2 separate regions of the Homo sapiens genome follow, and region 2 is linked to region 1. Evidence: promoter capture Hi-C in 16 types of primary human blood cells and fetal thymus (Javierre and others, 2016). All regions are on one chromosome and are shown on one strand. The core of a region is centred on a gene start or on the middle of the fragment in contact, and the rest is flanking DNA. Distances in the headings are between cores, read along the strand shown.

Evidence for each region. Contacts are between HindIII fragments. The CHiCAGO score rates a contact against its expected background, and 5 or more counts as called.
Region 2: a contact is called between a fragment that was not itself captured here and the fragment with the promoter of MYL4 in region 1, in 1 of 17 cell types (erythroblasts). The highest score is 5.2, in erythroblasts.

The regions. Positions count from the first base shown.
Region 1 is chr17:47,203,386-47,210,665 of GRCh38, forward strand. It overlaps MYL4 (myosin light chain 4), which reads left to right and starts at 5,963. Exons shown (of 7, transcript NM_002476.2): 1 at 5,963-6,172. The coding sequence starts at 6,038. RefSeq lists enhancers at 997-1,046, 1,227-1,316, 1,327-1,376, 2,167-2,266. The HindIII fragment of the contact is 17,980 bases long and covers 4,336-7,280 here.
Region 2 is chr17:47,623,169-47,630,041 of GRCh38, forward strand. It overlaps KPNB1-DT (KPNB1 divergent transcript), which reads right to left. Exons shown (of 4, transcript NR_171700.1): 3 at 3,379-3,459. It overlaps NPEPPS (aminopeptidase puromycin sensitive), which reads left to right. Exons shown (of 23, transcript NM_006310.4): 23 at 1-108. Among named protein-coding and RNA genes, the nearest start is that of KPNB1-DT, 23 kb to the right of the region's middle. The HindIII fragment of the contact is 4,831 bases long and covers 2,974-6,873 here.

The sequences.
Region 1 (7,280 bases), core at 4,713-7,212:
TTCCCTAATTTGTTTCCCAGCTATATCTATTCTGCCACTTTTCAAATCTATTATGTGCTCTATTTTGGTGATTACTTTTTCATACATAAGATATCTGCTTGTTTTTTAAAAATATTTTTTCTTATTTCATCTATTATACTTTTTATAGTTGATATTCTGTTTGTTCTTTACATTTTCTTGTCCTGGTGTCATATTAGTAATATTTTCGTTTATCTCTTTTAGCATGATTTTTGGGCTACTTTTAAAATCTTGGTCCATCTGTTGTCATATTTCCACTTAAGTTACACTGTGTAATCAAGTAAGTTGTATCCTTTCGGATGAGTTGTGCTATTCAGGTGTCTTGTTATTTTGTCCTTGGCCATACAGGTTGTTCTGTCCAACAATGCATACTAGTGCCATTGAGCTTAGAGGTTGAAGGCTGGGGGTGAATGAGCCCTAAAACCGAGAATGCTTGGCTCCCAAACTCCCAAGTGTGTCATGCTCAGACTCATAAAATAACTCTCCATGTCAGGGCTTCACCCTTTGCCCTCCCATCAGGGAAAAGCAGCCTTAGGAGTACAGGCATGAGCCACCGTGTCTGTGGCCAAAACACTTCTTAGAGTATAGTTCACATGCCCTGGAAATTTAGAGGGCTAAGGAGGGGGAACATTTGTCTAAAGTTGGGTTGCCCCCTTACCTGTTTTGATCACAAGCACAGTGCATCTCCAGTGCTTTGCTGTTACTCTTACCAACACCCGGACCACAGTTTGAGTCATGGCGAGTGAGGGAGTAGCACCGTTTGTCATAAGACAGTGGTGGAGGAAAAGGGAGATCAGAACCCTGAGAGCTCCTTTTCTTTTTTTAATCATTCCACAGCTGTGCCTGGCCACTTCCTGCCTCTAATCAAAGCCACCCTTCTACCACACACACCAATTCAAAACAAGGTCCTCTCCTTCACCCAAGGGGTTTCTCGAGTTTTTCTTCATTTCTTGATATTTTCTCTTTGTAACTCTTCTGCGGGTGATCTTGGGATAGGGAGCCATGGTCACAGTAGTTCCATCAGGATCCAAGCTTAAAGATCTTGAGTAGTTGCTTTGTGCTAGACACTTTATTCTACATGTGCCACCTGTATTAACTCATTTAATCTTCACAACTACCTTGTAGTTATAACAGCCACATTTTACAGATGAGAAAACTGAGGCATGAAGAAGTTAAAAAGTAGCCAGGTGTGGTAGGGTGCACCTGTAGTCCCAGCTACTTGGGAGACTGAGGCGGGAGAATCACTTGAACCAGGGAAATGGAGGCTGCAATGAACTATGTTTCACCACTGCACTCCAGCCTGAGTGACAAAGTGAGACCCTGTCTCGAAAAAAAAAAAAAAAAGTTAACTAACTAAGCCAGGACTCTAAACCAGGCAGTCTGATTCATGAGTCAGCCTTCTTAACCTCTGCCTTGCAGTGAAACCCAAATTACCCAGTACTCTCTATGGGGACGATTGACAAAGTGTTGGCCAGGGCATTGCCCTGTGATGTCCAGGCTTATGAGACATTGGTCAGAGAAGAGAGAGAGAGGGTGACAGGAACAAGGCATTAACAGCCAGGCTAGCTGTCAGCAGCATTTGATCCCAGGCAGGAGACTCTAATGGACCTCTCTGAGCAGGACACAGACAGGCTCTGTGTGGTTAGAGATGAAGGGAGGAGGAGGAGTGAGTGTTTGCGAGCTCAGCCCAAATGAGGGCTGATGTCACTTCTCCTTTGTGCATTTGTGTCCGAATTTGACATCTGATGTAAACCGGTTGGTGCTAAATTCTGTCTTGTGTTTTCAATCTGCTGAATTGGAAGTCCCTCATGGGAGCATTTGGGTGAGCCTCAGCAACTCTGGCTCAGAAACCACCAGATGCTTCCCAGAGAAAGTTGTTTGGCTGCCAGTACCCACTGCCATACTTGCCTCTTCACACTACTACATCTCCTTCTTTCCTTGGCTCTGATGGGCCAACACATATTGTAGGGCAAGTCTGTGTCATAGGCCCTGGGAAGGATGCTCTCGATTGGTAAGATTTGAAGGTGAAAGTTACTGGCCATGAAACAGAATGAAGACCATAAGACGATGGAAGCTCGGACTCCAGTTACTGGGCTCTAATGAAGCGTGGCGTCATGAATTTTAGTAAAAACAAGGCCAGGGGTTGATATGTTGCTTCTTCATGCATGGCTCTTTCCCTGAAACCACAGCTCTCCTCCAGTTGTTTCTGAAGTGCCAGGCACTTTTTTCACTGGGGCTGCTGAAAACGAATCCGAAACTGATTTGAGGAGCGTCTCCTCCCCTGCTGGGGCTCCTGTGCCTAAGGTTTCAGGTGGTTGGGCATGCCTTCTCTGAGTGTTCTCCGTCAGACAGGCTGCCTGGCCCTAGAGACTTGCCACATGCTTTCTGAGCCACAAATATTTTACACCATGAGTTCCCAGCTGCTGCCCTTCCCCCCGCTTCCATTCCTTTCCACCTCTTCCTCATTCCTAATCCCACACCTTAAAATCCCTTTAGCCACTGTCACCTTACCTTGTCCCTTTCTCATGTGGACCTCTCTCTGGAAGTTCCAAATCTGGGAAGCCTGAATGCACCTCTAGCTTCAACCTGCTTGGCAAAGGAAAGTGAAATGAACATCTTCGAATGTTTCCTACATGGCAGAGGTTGTTTGCAGTGCCTTACTTAACATTATTTCATACAAATCTCATGACAATTTGAAAAGGAAATGTTTATCCTCAAAGGTCCTGAGGCTACTAAGGCCTAGATTAGAAAGTGGCAAAACCAGGCTTCAGACCCATCACTGTCTACCTCCAGAGTCCACAGTATTTGCGTGATTTTGGATGTCTCCGGAGCCCCATTCGGCTTTCCCAGCTTTCTAACCTCATAGCTCTGTTCCCATGCAGACCTGATATTTTGCTTCTTAGAATTTAGAAAAGAAAGGGGAGTGGGGTGGGGGAAAAAAGGAAAAGAAGAAAAGGAAAGAACAACCTTCCAGCTTTTTCTTCTGAGGATCATACGTCTTTGTAGAATAACTACAACAATAACATAATACTAACTTGTTGTGTGTGCGTGTGTGTTTTAACTGGAAGGGGGCATGTGTCATTCAGTGATTATTTAAAAAAATTTTAAGCCATGGAACCATTAGAAAATGATACTGTTTTACATACTGGGAGCTCCAGTATGTAAAACACAGGAGTGGTGGTGACTGAAGTGATGGTGGTGGAAGGAGCTCCAAGGTCTGGCCTTTCTATGTACCCTGCAGCCAGAAGCATGTCACCCTATAAAGCAAGATAGCAAGATTGCTAGTCTCAGGATTCTGTTGAACATGGTTTGAAAGTCTCCTGATTGTTTTTCCTTTTAAAATAAGCAAGCTGAGGCCCAGAGAGAGGAAGTGGCTGGCAGAGTCAGGACTAGTGCCTGGGTCTCCCAGCTTCTATCCTGCAGCTCTTTACAGAAATCCCAGTTTGTATATTTTTGCACAAACTCCGCAGGATGCAGTCCAGGAAGGGATGCAGGTGGAGGTGGAGAAGGAGGAGGGCCTGGGCTTCCACTTTTTCTCTTTCCTCGTCACCAACAACCTGAACTCCCAACCCCTGTGGGGAATGGGGTAGGTCAAGGAGAGGACTGACAGGGATTATAGAAGAGTGCGAGCGAAGGTACAAGGAATCAAGTTTGGTAGCCGGCAAGGAAGAGAGGTGAGGCAGAAGATGAGGGGAGGAGGTGAGGTGCACAGAGCAAAGGAGCCACCATCCCAGCTCAGGACCAGGGCTGGGCTAGAATCTGGGCCCTGGTCTCGTTCTAGTATTCCCTTGAGCAAGTCCTGGCCCTTTTTCCTGCCCGTTTCCTTTGAGGGCTTCTCTGTCACCACCAGTGAGCGTGTATAGGCTACAGGAGGAGCAGTGAAGAGCAGTGTGCTACAGAGAGCACTGCACCCCAGGAAACAGAATTAGTTGGCCCAGCTCTGCCTATAAGTAGCTGAATGTCTTGAGGCAACTTCAACGTTTCCCTGGACCTTAGATTCCTTGCCTGTAAAACAGCATGGGGCCAGATGATCTCTAAGGGTCCTTCTGGCTCTGAAGGCAATGATCTGGGGCATGGAACCTGTAGTTAGAGAGCTGGGAAATGGGCAGATGTGGGCTCCAGGGCACCCAGAATTGCAGGCTTAGGAGCTAACAGCAACCAGGATTCTGTAGTCTAGCAATCTTGCTTTACAGGTGAGGAAACTGGGCCTAGAAAGGCGAAGTGATTTTTTTGCCTCTCTCAGCTTTATTCCTCTTTTCCTCTGAACTGTAGAGTCTAAAGATTCAGCACAAAGCAGTTTTGTGTAGTGGATACATAAGCTTTTTTGTTGTTATTTTTCTGAATTATTTTGTTGACTTTCAAAGTTTTTTTTACATAAACAGTAAATGCTCGTTATAAAAATTTCCATTAATACAGGAAGTGAAAAAAGTAAAAAACTGCAAATTGCTGTTATCCTCCCACCCTTACCCCCTAGGTCCCCAGAGGTGTCTCTGTTAACAGTTCAGCGTGTATCCATCCTGACTCCTCCAATAAATGCAGAAACTTGTATGTCTCTCCCCGACAACTGGATTATCATATACATTATTCAAGCATAGGCTTTAGACTCAGACATATCTACATCTAATCCCAGCTTATAGCTAATTATTTGAGTGACCTTGGCCAAGTTGTTCATCCAGTTTTAGTCTCAATCTCCCCATGTGTAAAGTGAAAATAATAATAGTATCTACCTGGCCTGGCGTGGCGGCTTATGCCTATAATCCCAGCCCTTTGGAAGACCGAGGCTAGTGGATCCCTTGAGCTCAGGAGTTCAAGACCAACCTGGGCAATTTAGCAAGACCTCATCTCTACTGAAAAACAAAAAACAAAAAAACTCCCCCAAAATTAGCCAAGTGTGCTGGTGTGCACCTGTAGTCCCAGCTACTCGGAAGGCTGAGGTGGGAGAATCGCTTGAGCCAGGAAAGACGAGGCTGCAGTGAGCTGTGATTGCACCACTGCACTGCAACCTGAGCAACAGAGCGATACCTTGTTTCTGTTAAAACAAACAAACAAACAAAATAGTATCTACCTTATAGGATCATGGTGAAGATTTAATGAGATTTTATATGAATAGCACTTAACAGTTCCTGGTACTGATAGTAGTAAGCACTACACACACACACACACACACACACACACACACACACACAGAGCACAGAATGAGTTAGAGGTAAAGTGAAAACTAAACCCCAAGTTTTCTGACCCTCAGTCTCCTCGACTTTCTACCACATCTCTCTGCTTCTCTCCTAGGTGCCTAGGCATGGGTTCAGTGCTCACTACTTGTTGAATGAATGACTGAGGTTGTGTGTAAGGGGGTAGATCTAGGGATCTGAGGTCTGTGGAGTTCCTGGGATGCCTGCTCTGGAAAATGGAGGCTTTCATCCTGTGAGTTGGGAGGGTGTGGGGCAGTGTGGGTTGGCTGGACCAGCTGTTGCTTCAGAGCTCCATGCCTGGAGAGTTGGGCCTCTAGGCAGAGCTGAGGGCCCAGAGTGGCTCTCAGCTTAAAGGATCTTGGCTTAGAAGGAATGTGCAGTGGGCTGCCTCTGCTCGGGAGGGGCTAAAAAAAGCCTCACCCTCCCCTGGGCTTTGTGTGAGGCTTATCAACTGCTCAAGTCAGCTCATCTCTCTGGCTGCTCCGGCATATTTGAGAAGGTCTGTTTCCCTGGTCCTTCTGGGTTTCCACCAATTGGCAAGAAGGGATCAGCCTGTCCTAGAGGTGAAGAGAGAGCTGTGGCATGAAGGGGAGGGGGCTGGTGGCCCCAAACCTGGTGACAATACACAGTTGTCAGCTGTACCCTGCTGGCGTTTCTTCCTTTTATAGTCAGCAGCAGTTGCTCTTGCTTTCACCCAGCCCCTCTGTGGGGGCTCCTGCCCAGGATAAAAGGGAAGGGAGGCAGCCCAGGCTCCTATCTCATCTCCCAGACGCCACGTCTCTCGGTTTCTTCTTAGATCACTCCTCTGCCAAAGATCCCAACAAGACAACATGGCTCCCAAGAAGCCTGAGCCTAAGAAGGAGGCAGCCAAGCCAGCTCCAGCTCCAGCTCCAGCCCCTGCACCAGCCCCTGCCCCAGCTCCTGAGGCTCCCAAGGAACCTGCCTTTGACCCCAAGAGTGTAAAGGTAAGTGAGGCTCAGCCATTGGGATAGAGGTGGGGATGACATTGAGAGTCCTTTTGCTCTGGAGCTTAGCGATCTACTTTATGTGGGCTGGACTGGGATGAGGACTAGGGTGTCCATGCCCCAGATCGCAGTCCCATGGGGCAGTGGAGTGGGTGTTGGGGCTGATGAGGGGGAGATTGAGTCATAAACCTTTTCCGTCAAGAATGAGGTGCTGCTTTGAGGGAGCCCTGTCCTGCTACCCTAGATTTGTGCAGCTAAGTTGGGAATGGGGGGAGGTACAACCAACCATCCATCCACCCTTTTATAAGGCATTATGAGGACCACCATAGCAAAGTAAAACAGACTAGCCTTTTCCTAGGAGGTAGTGGGATATCTTTATGGAGAACAGACAGATCATGGCAGCTGCCAGTGTAACTTGGAGTAAGTGATATAAACAGTCAGGGAATATCCTCCCTGTGCATGGCAGTTTGGGAAAGGCTTCACTCACAAACACTCTTACGGCAGGTGAGGGCAGGGTGGGAAGGAGGTTGTGGTTAAGGTAAGAGGAGCCCGGATTCCTCTCTCTCTTTCCTTACCCAGACGGGCCTTTCCTTCTGTGGCCTTAGCCTGGGTTCCTATCTGTAGCATGCAGAGGACTGGCCCACCCTGGGCTGAGACCCTCTCTCCAACCGGGTCAGGAAGCTGGGCCTGGTTCCTTTGCCCCACCCTGCTCTCCTCACACAAAACATTCCTCTCCCTGGAGCTGGTGTGGGCCCTGCATGCTGACTCAGTCATTTTAGACCTCCCAGCTCTCTGGCCCAGCTGCTGAAGGAATGGAACTGGTGGGAGAGGGGTGGGCTGAAGAGGGAGGGGGCCAGAGACCTCTGAAGAGGAGCAGTTTTAAGCCTTGGCACCAGAGTGGAAAAGGTCAAGTGGCTACTGGTATGAAGAGCTATTAATAACAGGTTGGGAGTGCTGAGCCCCCAGGGATCTCAGCCTTAGGACAGGGCTGGGGGTGGTGAGGGATCAGGTCAAAATAAGAGCACAGGACAAGGTTCTGTGACAAGCAGGCAGGGAAATTAAAACCCAGAGCTCTAATTGTATGACCTCCCTGCCCTCTGAGAATTCC
Region 2 (6,873 bases), core at 4,139-6,638, 420 kb after region 1:
AAGGTCATCAGATTGTGAGACTGCTTCCTTGAAACATTTTTGTGCTATTGTTTTAAAAAAATAATTAAAAAACAGTTGGCGTTAATAAAAATGTCAATGTGAAACTGATGTCCTGATTCACTTTATTCTCTTTCTTTGATAAGAAACTAAAAACTTTCCTATCATTCAGTAGGCTTATGCAAAGTTATACTATCATAGGATTTTTCAAATTCAAAAAAAATCCAGTTCCTTAATTCCTAATTTATAGATCTTAACAGAAAAATCCTGAGATTCATTCTAAATCAGTTCTACATTCTCAAAACTCTCTCAGAGACTCTTATAGTCAGCATTCAGGAATGAACTTGAGACTTCCTCAGTCCCTAGTTTTGAGGCACCCTAGTTCAGGCACCATGCTCAGGGCTGCCCTTAGGCTCTCAAATGTTCTTAAGGCACCAGTGAAGCAGGGGCACCAAAAAGACTGAGAAAAATGCAGGTTTAATTGAAGAACTCAGAATTTTGCAATCAGAAATTCTGGAAACAGGTTATTTTACTTTCAGCATACATGTGATTTTTGTCTGTAATAATAGTTAAGTAGTTTGAATTACGTTCAGGGAGAGGTTATACTAGATGTCTTCCATTTGCCTTTCAGAACCCCTCTTCATCCCACTCTGGACCCCAGCGGGTGCTGACCCACATGGACTGCAGCATGAATGGCTCCCTTGCCCTCTGACTTCAGCTTCTGTTTATCCAATTATTAATATCCAAAGAAGATGAGAAGATATAAGGAAGAGATGGTCAGAGTACTCTGGCTTTCTCATTGCCAGGTCACATGGGTTGTCTGTGTCCCTTTAGCAAAGACCACAGCTCTTACCAAGCAGCCCCCTCTAGCTTCTGGCTCCTTCTCTTTGCTCCTTCACATCTAGGAATAGAAAGAAAGGAGAACTCGAGAGCTGGGTGCGGTGGCTCACGCTTGTAATCCCAGCACTTTGGGAGGCCGAGACGGGTAGATCACCTGAGGTCAAGAATTCAAGACCAGCCTGGCCAACATGGTGAAACCCCGTCTCTACTAAAAATACAAAAATTAGCTGGGCATGGTGGCGCATGCCTGTAATCCCAGCTACTCGGGAGGCTGAGGCAGGAGAATTGCCAGAACCCAGGAGGCAGAGGTTGCAGTGAGCCAAGACCGTGCCACTGCACTCCAGCCTGGGCAACAAGAGTGAAACTCCGTCTCCAAAAAAAAAAAAGAAGACTCAAGCTGGGTGCGGTCACTCACACCTGTAATCCCAGCACTTTGGGAGGCTGAGGTAGACAGATCACCTGAGGTCAGGAGTTTCAGACCAGCCTGGTCAACATGATGAAACCCCTGTTTCTACTAAAAATACAAAAATTGGCCAAGCATGGTGATGCATGTCTGTAATACCAGCTACTTGAGAGGCTGAGGCACAAGAATTGCTTGAGCCTGGGAGGCAGAGGCTGCAGTGAGCTGAGATCGTGCCACTGCACTCCAGCCTGGGCAACAGAGCGAGACTGTCTCAAAAAAAAAAAAAAAAAAAAAAAAAAGGACTTAGTTACCAGCCCTGGATTACGCCATTATTCTTCATTGATTTTCCTGCACTCTGTCCATGTCTCTGTAAATAGTCCTTTATTAAACCTTCCTCAGTTTGTGTTCTTTCCTACCAATACCTTGAGTGATTTGGGCACAATAGCCCTGCTGCTTTGGGTCTCTAAAGGTTTTAATTCAGCCTTTTCTGTGTCAGATGTTTTGTTTTTCAAATAGCTCCCTATCATAAGTCATACACCCATTTTACAGATGAGAATGCAGACTCAGAAAAGTAAGGCAAATTAATACAGCAAAATAACTATCAACCAGTGATCAAGCCAGGTTTGCTAGTCTCCAAAGGCTGTGGTCTTTCAGGGAACTGCCATGTCTCCACAATTAAAAGATCATAGTTAGACTGGGCCAGGCAATAGCATTAAAGCTTAATTACTTTTTCCTAATATATTTTGGTTACAAATTTTAGTGGAAATCAGAAGGTTTGGAAGAAACAAGTATGTTAATGCCTCCTATGGAGAGTTTTACATTATTTTTCATTAATGAGATTCAGTAAAGCTTTTTGGAACAGTGGGCAGTGGTGGGGTGAATTCTCAACTTGCAATTTCTAAGGATAGGTTTTAGGGAGCAAGGAATAAATCTGTTGAGTACAACTTGGGGAGGATTAAGAGGAGTTCTATAGCTCTAAATAGATTCTTCAAATTCTATAACCCAAAAAGTTTCCAGAATTACCAGAAAGACATCATGGAGCCACATGTAAGTGCTAATGTTTTTTGTTTTTATTTTTTAGCAAGTTATTAAATAAAAGCAAGTGGGCCGGGCACAGTGGCTCATGCTTGTAATCCCAACACTTACCAAGGCAGGTGGATTACCTGAGGTCAGGAGATCAAGACCAGCCTGGCCAACATGGCGAAACCCCGTCTCTGCTAAAAATACAAAAATTAGTCGGTGTGGTGGTGCATGCCTATAATCCCAGCTACTCGGGAGTCTGAGGTGAGAGAATCTACTTGAACCCAGGAGGCAGAGGTTGCAGTGAGCTGAGATTGCACCACTGCACTCCAGCCTGGGTAACAGAGCAAGATTCCCTCTCAAAAAAAAACAATTAATTTTAAAATAAACAGGCCAGGCGCGGTGGCTCACGCCAGTATTCCCAGCACTTGGGAGGCCCAGGCGGGCAGTTCACCTGAGGTCGGGAGTTTGAGACTAGCCTGACCAACATGGAGAAACCCTGTCTCTACTAAAAAAAAAAAAAAAAAAAAAAAAATTAGCCGGGTGTGGTGGCGCATGCCTGTAATCCCAGCTACTTGGGAGGCTGAGGCAGGAGAATTGCTTGAACCCGGGAGGCGCAGGTCACAGTGAGCCGAGATCGCGCCATTGCACTCCAGCCTGGGCAACAAGAGCGAAACTCCATCTCAAAAATAAAATGCATAAATAAAAATCCAAGCTTTTGGTAATATGTTTATACTGCTGAATCTATACTTACAGCGTCACTCTTGACTGAAAAATATATTGCTTGATAGAACTGAATCTCTTCCTTTACTAGATACTAGTTTTAGGGTTTCAGAGTTGGTTTTCTCTAAATAAGAGTATTTGTGACAATGCAAAATACCCACCCAAGAAGGACCGTGCCTTCTTGTACCAACCCTGGTGCAAGCAAAATGATTGAGGTGTTTGGTTTCAAATGCAAGAATAAGAGCCTTGATGTTAACAAAACATTGAGCCGAACAACTGCCTTCCCTAGGAAACCAAATCAGAGGACTGGTTGTTCTACCAGTTTGATGGCCAGTGTTGTGATAGGTGACAGTGTCAGGTGAAGGAAAGTCAAGTGAGTTGTTACTGCCACTTACAAAGACCTGTGATTGCTCCTGTGATTCCACTGCAAGTATATGGCAGCTGTAGCTTTCACTACTGGGCTTCTGTTTCCAACACTGGGGAGGAATTGGCAGAGAATGAACATAGTTTACTGTCATGATCTGTGCTTTCTCAGGGAGGTTGTAGCAGCTAACAGCAGATATACTATACATCAATTAAGATGACTACCAGGAAGAAAAAAATAATCCTTGCCGTGGTTTGGCTGACAGTACCAATATGGTCCTCTGAGACATCCCCTACCCCTACTCTAACCACCTTTAACCTTCATCACCAATTTGACAAATTTTACAGGTGTATTACGTTACACTGCAATTCTGGGCAACTCTTAATAGGGCACTGATTACCTTGCATTATTTGTACTCATCTGGACATTCTCTTCCTTAATGTTTATTAGCCTGTACTTTTAAAGTTAAGCAGGGGGCCAGGCACCGTGGCTCACGCCTGTAATCCCAGCACTTTGGGAGGCTGAGGCAGGCGGATCACTTGAGCCCAGGAGTTTGAGACCAGCCTGGACAACATAGTGAAACCCCATCTCTACAAAAAATACAAACATTAGCTGGGTGTGGTGGTATGCTCCCGTAGTCCCAGCTACCTGGGAGGCTGAGGCAGGAGAATCGCTTGAGCCCAGCAGGAGGTTGCAGTGAGCCGAGATCATGCCACTGCACTCCAGCCTGGGTGACAAGGCAAGACCCTATCTCAAAAAAATAAAAAATAGTTAAGGAGGTGCAGGCATGGTAGCTCACACCTGTAATCCCGGCACTTTGGGAGGCCAAGGTGGGAGGATCACTTGAGCTCAGGAGATTGAGACCAGCCTTGGCCACATGGTAAAACTCCATCTCTACTAAAAGAAAAAAAATTAGCTGGGCATGTTGGCATGTGCCTGTAGTCCCAGCTACTCAGGAGGCTTAGGCTGCACTGACCTATGGTCACACCACTGCACTCCAGGCTGGGTGACAGTGAGACCCTGTCTCAATAATAGGGCCGGGGGGGTGGCTCATGCCTGTAATCCCAGCACTTTGGAAAGCCGAGGTGGGTGGATTGCTTGAGCTCAGGAGTTCAAGACCAGCCTGGGCAACATAACGAAACCCCGTCTCGTTATACAAAATACAAAAAAATTAGCCAGGCATAGTGGTATATGCCTGTGGTCCCAGCTACTCAGGAGGCTGAGGTGGGAAGAGGATCGCTGGAGCCCAGGAAGTTGAGGCTACAGTGAGTCAGGATGGCACCACTGCACTCCATCCTGGGTGAGAGCAAAACCCTGTCTCAAACAAACAAAAATAATAGTAATAAAAATAAGGAGAAGAAAAAATCAGTATGTGGAGTGGCTATTAGGTTAGTGGGAGAAGTCTCAAGAACACCATACAAAATAATAGAAGGGAGATGGAAGGAAACAACTTACAAGAAAATGTACAAAGCACTTAAAATATTTGAGATGAATGAGAATGGATGAGATTGCTGTTGCTTTTCTAACAGGTCAATTTCCTCTTCTATCAGCAGAGCACTTGTAAGTCAGAATGTAAAGGGATGTGATAGGATGAAGTTAATACTGTGCCCTCTACAAGTGTAAAGAAGTTCTTTGTTTTCTTCTTTTTTGTCTTGAGATGATCTCTTTGTCACCCAGGCTGGAGTGCAGTGGTGCGATCCTGGCTCACTGCGCAGTGGTGCGATCCTGGCTCACTGCAGCCTTGAACTTCTGGGCTTAAGGGATCCTCCCACCTCAGCCTCCTGAGTAGCTGGGACTAGAGGTGTGTGCCACCACACCCACTAATTTAATTTGTTAATTTTGTGGAGGTGGGGTTTCACCATGTTGCCCAGGCTTGTCTCGAACTCCTAGGCTCACGTGATCCCAAGTTACTGGGATTACAGGCATGAGCCATCTTGCCCCGCCTTAGTTCATTTTTTTTTTTTTTGAGATGGAGTCTTGCTCTGTTGCCCAGGCTGGAGTGCAATGGCGTGATCTTGGCTCACTGCAACCTCCGCCTCCCAGGGTCAAGCGATTCTCCCACCTTCAGCCACCCAAGTAGCTGGGCTTACAGGCATGCACCACCTGTCTGGCTAATTTTTGTATTTTTAGTAGACATGAGGTTTCGCCATGCTGGCCAGGCTGGTCTTGAACTCCTGACCGCCCACCTGGGCCTCCCAAAGTGCTGGGATTACAGGCGTGAGCCACTGCGCCTGGCCTCTTAGTTCATTCTTATAACAGTAACAGAGTAGACAGACTATTGGATAAACAACGAAATAGTACATGACTTAGATCTCTTGGCTACCAAACCTGGCCTTCTCTTAATTTCTTACTCTCAGCAAATGGAAGACCTATGTGACCAATACAGTAGCTACTAGCCATTCACAGCTATTTAAATTAATTAGAATTAAATAAAAAGTTGCTTGGGGCTGGCTCATGCCTGTAATCCCAGCACTTTGGGAGGCCAAGGCAGGTGGATCACTTGAGTTCAAGACCAGCCTGGACAACATGGTGAAACCCCGTCTCTACTAAAAATACAAAAATTAACCAGGCGCATGCCTGTAATCCCAACTACTAAGGAGGCTGAGGCAGATGAATTGCTTGAGCCCAGGAGGCGGAGATTGCACTCCATGCCACTGCACTCCAGCCTGGGTAACAGGGCAAGACTCTGTCTCAAGAAAAAAGTTGCCTGGTTGCACTAGCCACAAATCAACTGCGCAGCAGCCACATAAGGCTAGTGGCTACTGTATTGAACAGCACAGATATAAATCATATTCATCACTCAGGAAAGTTCTATTGGACCACCCTGAGCTACACCTCATATATCCAAGTGTATTTTTTTGTGTATCACTGAAAGTAATAGCTTGGGCAACATGGTGAGACTCTGTCTCTACAAAAGATTGAAAAAATTAACTGAGTGTGGTAGCACACACCTGTAGCCCCAACTGCTTAGAAGACTGAGGTTGGGAGATCACTTGAGTCCAGGAGGTGGAGGCGGCAGTGAGCCATGTTCGTGCCACTGCACTATAGAGCCTGGGCAACAAAATGAGACCCTGTCTCCAAAAAACAAAGTTACATTTTTACTAATCTTGTAACAAATTGCTGATCACCTAAGAACATTTTATCACTAACCCCTATTCATTTAAAATTTTATTTTTCATGAATGTAATACATGTCGTATTCATTTTCCAAAAATTGAAGGAAAAAAAAGTGACTCTCTTCTTACAAACTCCTCTACGTTTTTATACTCTATGCATTTTGAATATTTTTAGTAATGAAGATAGGCTGTGCCTCCTTCACTTGTCTGACCACGTAACCAGTGCCACGTGTTTTCAGTCTTTGCTGTATGAAACTAAATGTGCCATGCTCAGAGCTGCCACCCGTGTCCTAAGTCACGAAGCTAATCACCAAAGACTACTTGTGAACAAAGTAACAGCTGGCAAATGCATACCTTGAGAAGTGTTTCTTCCTTGTTTAGAGTCACTGGTTCATGAATGTTTTCCAGCCT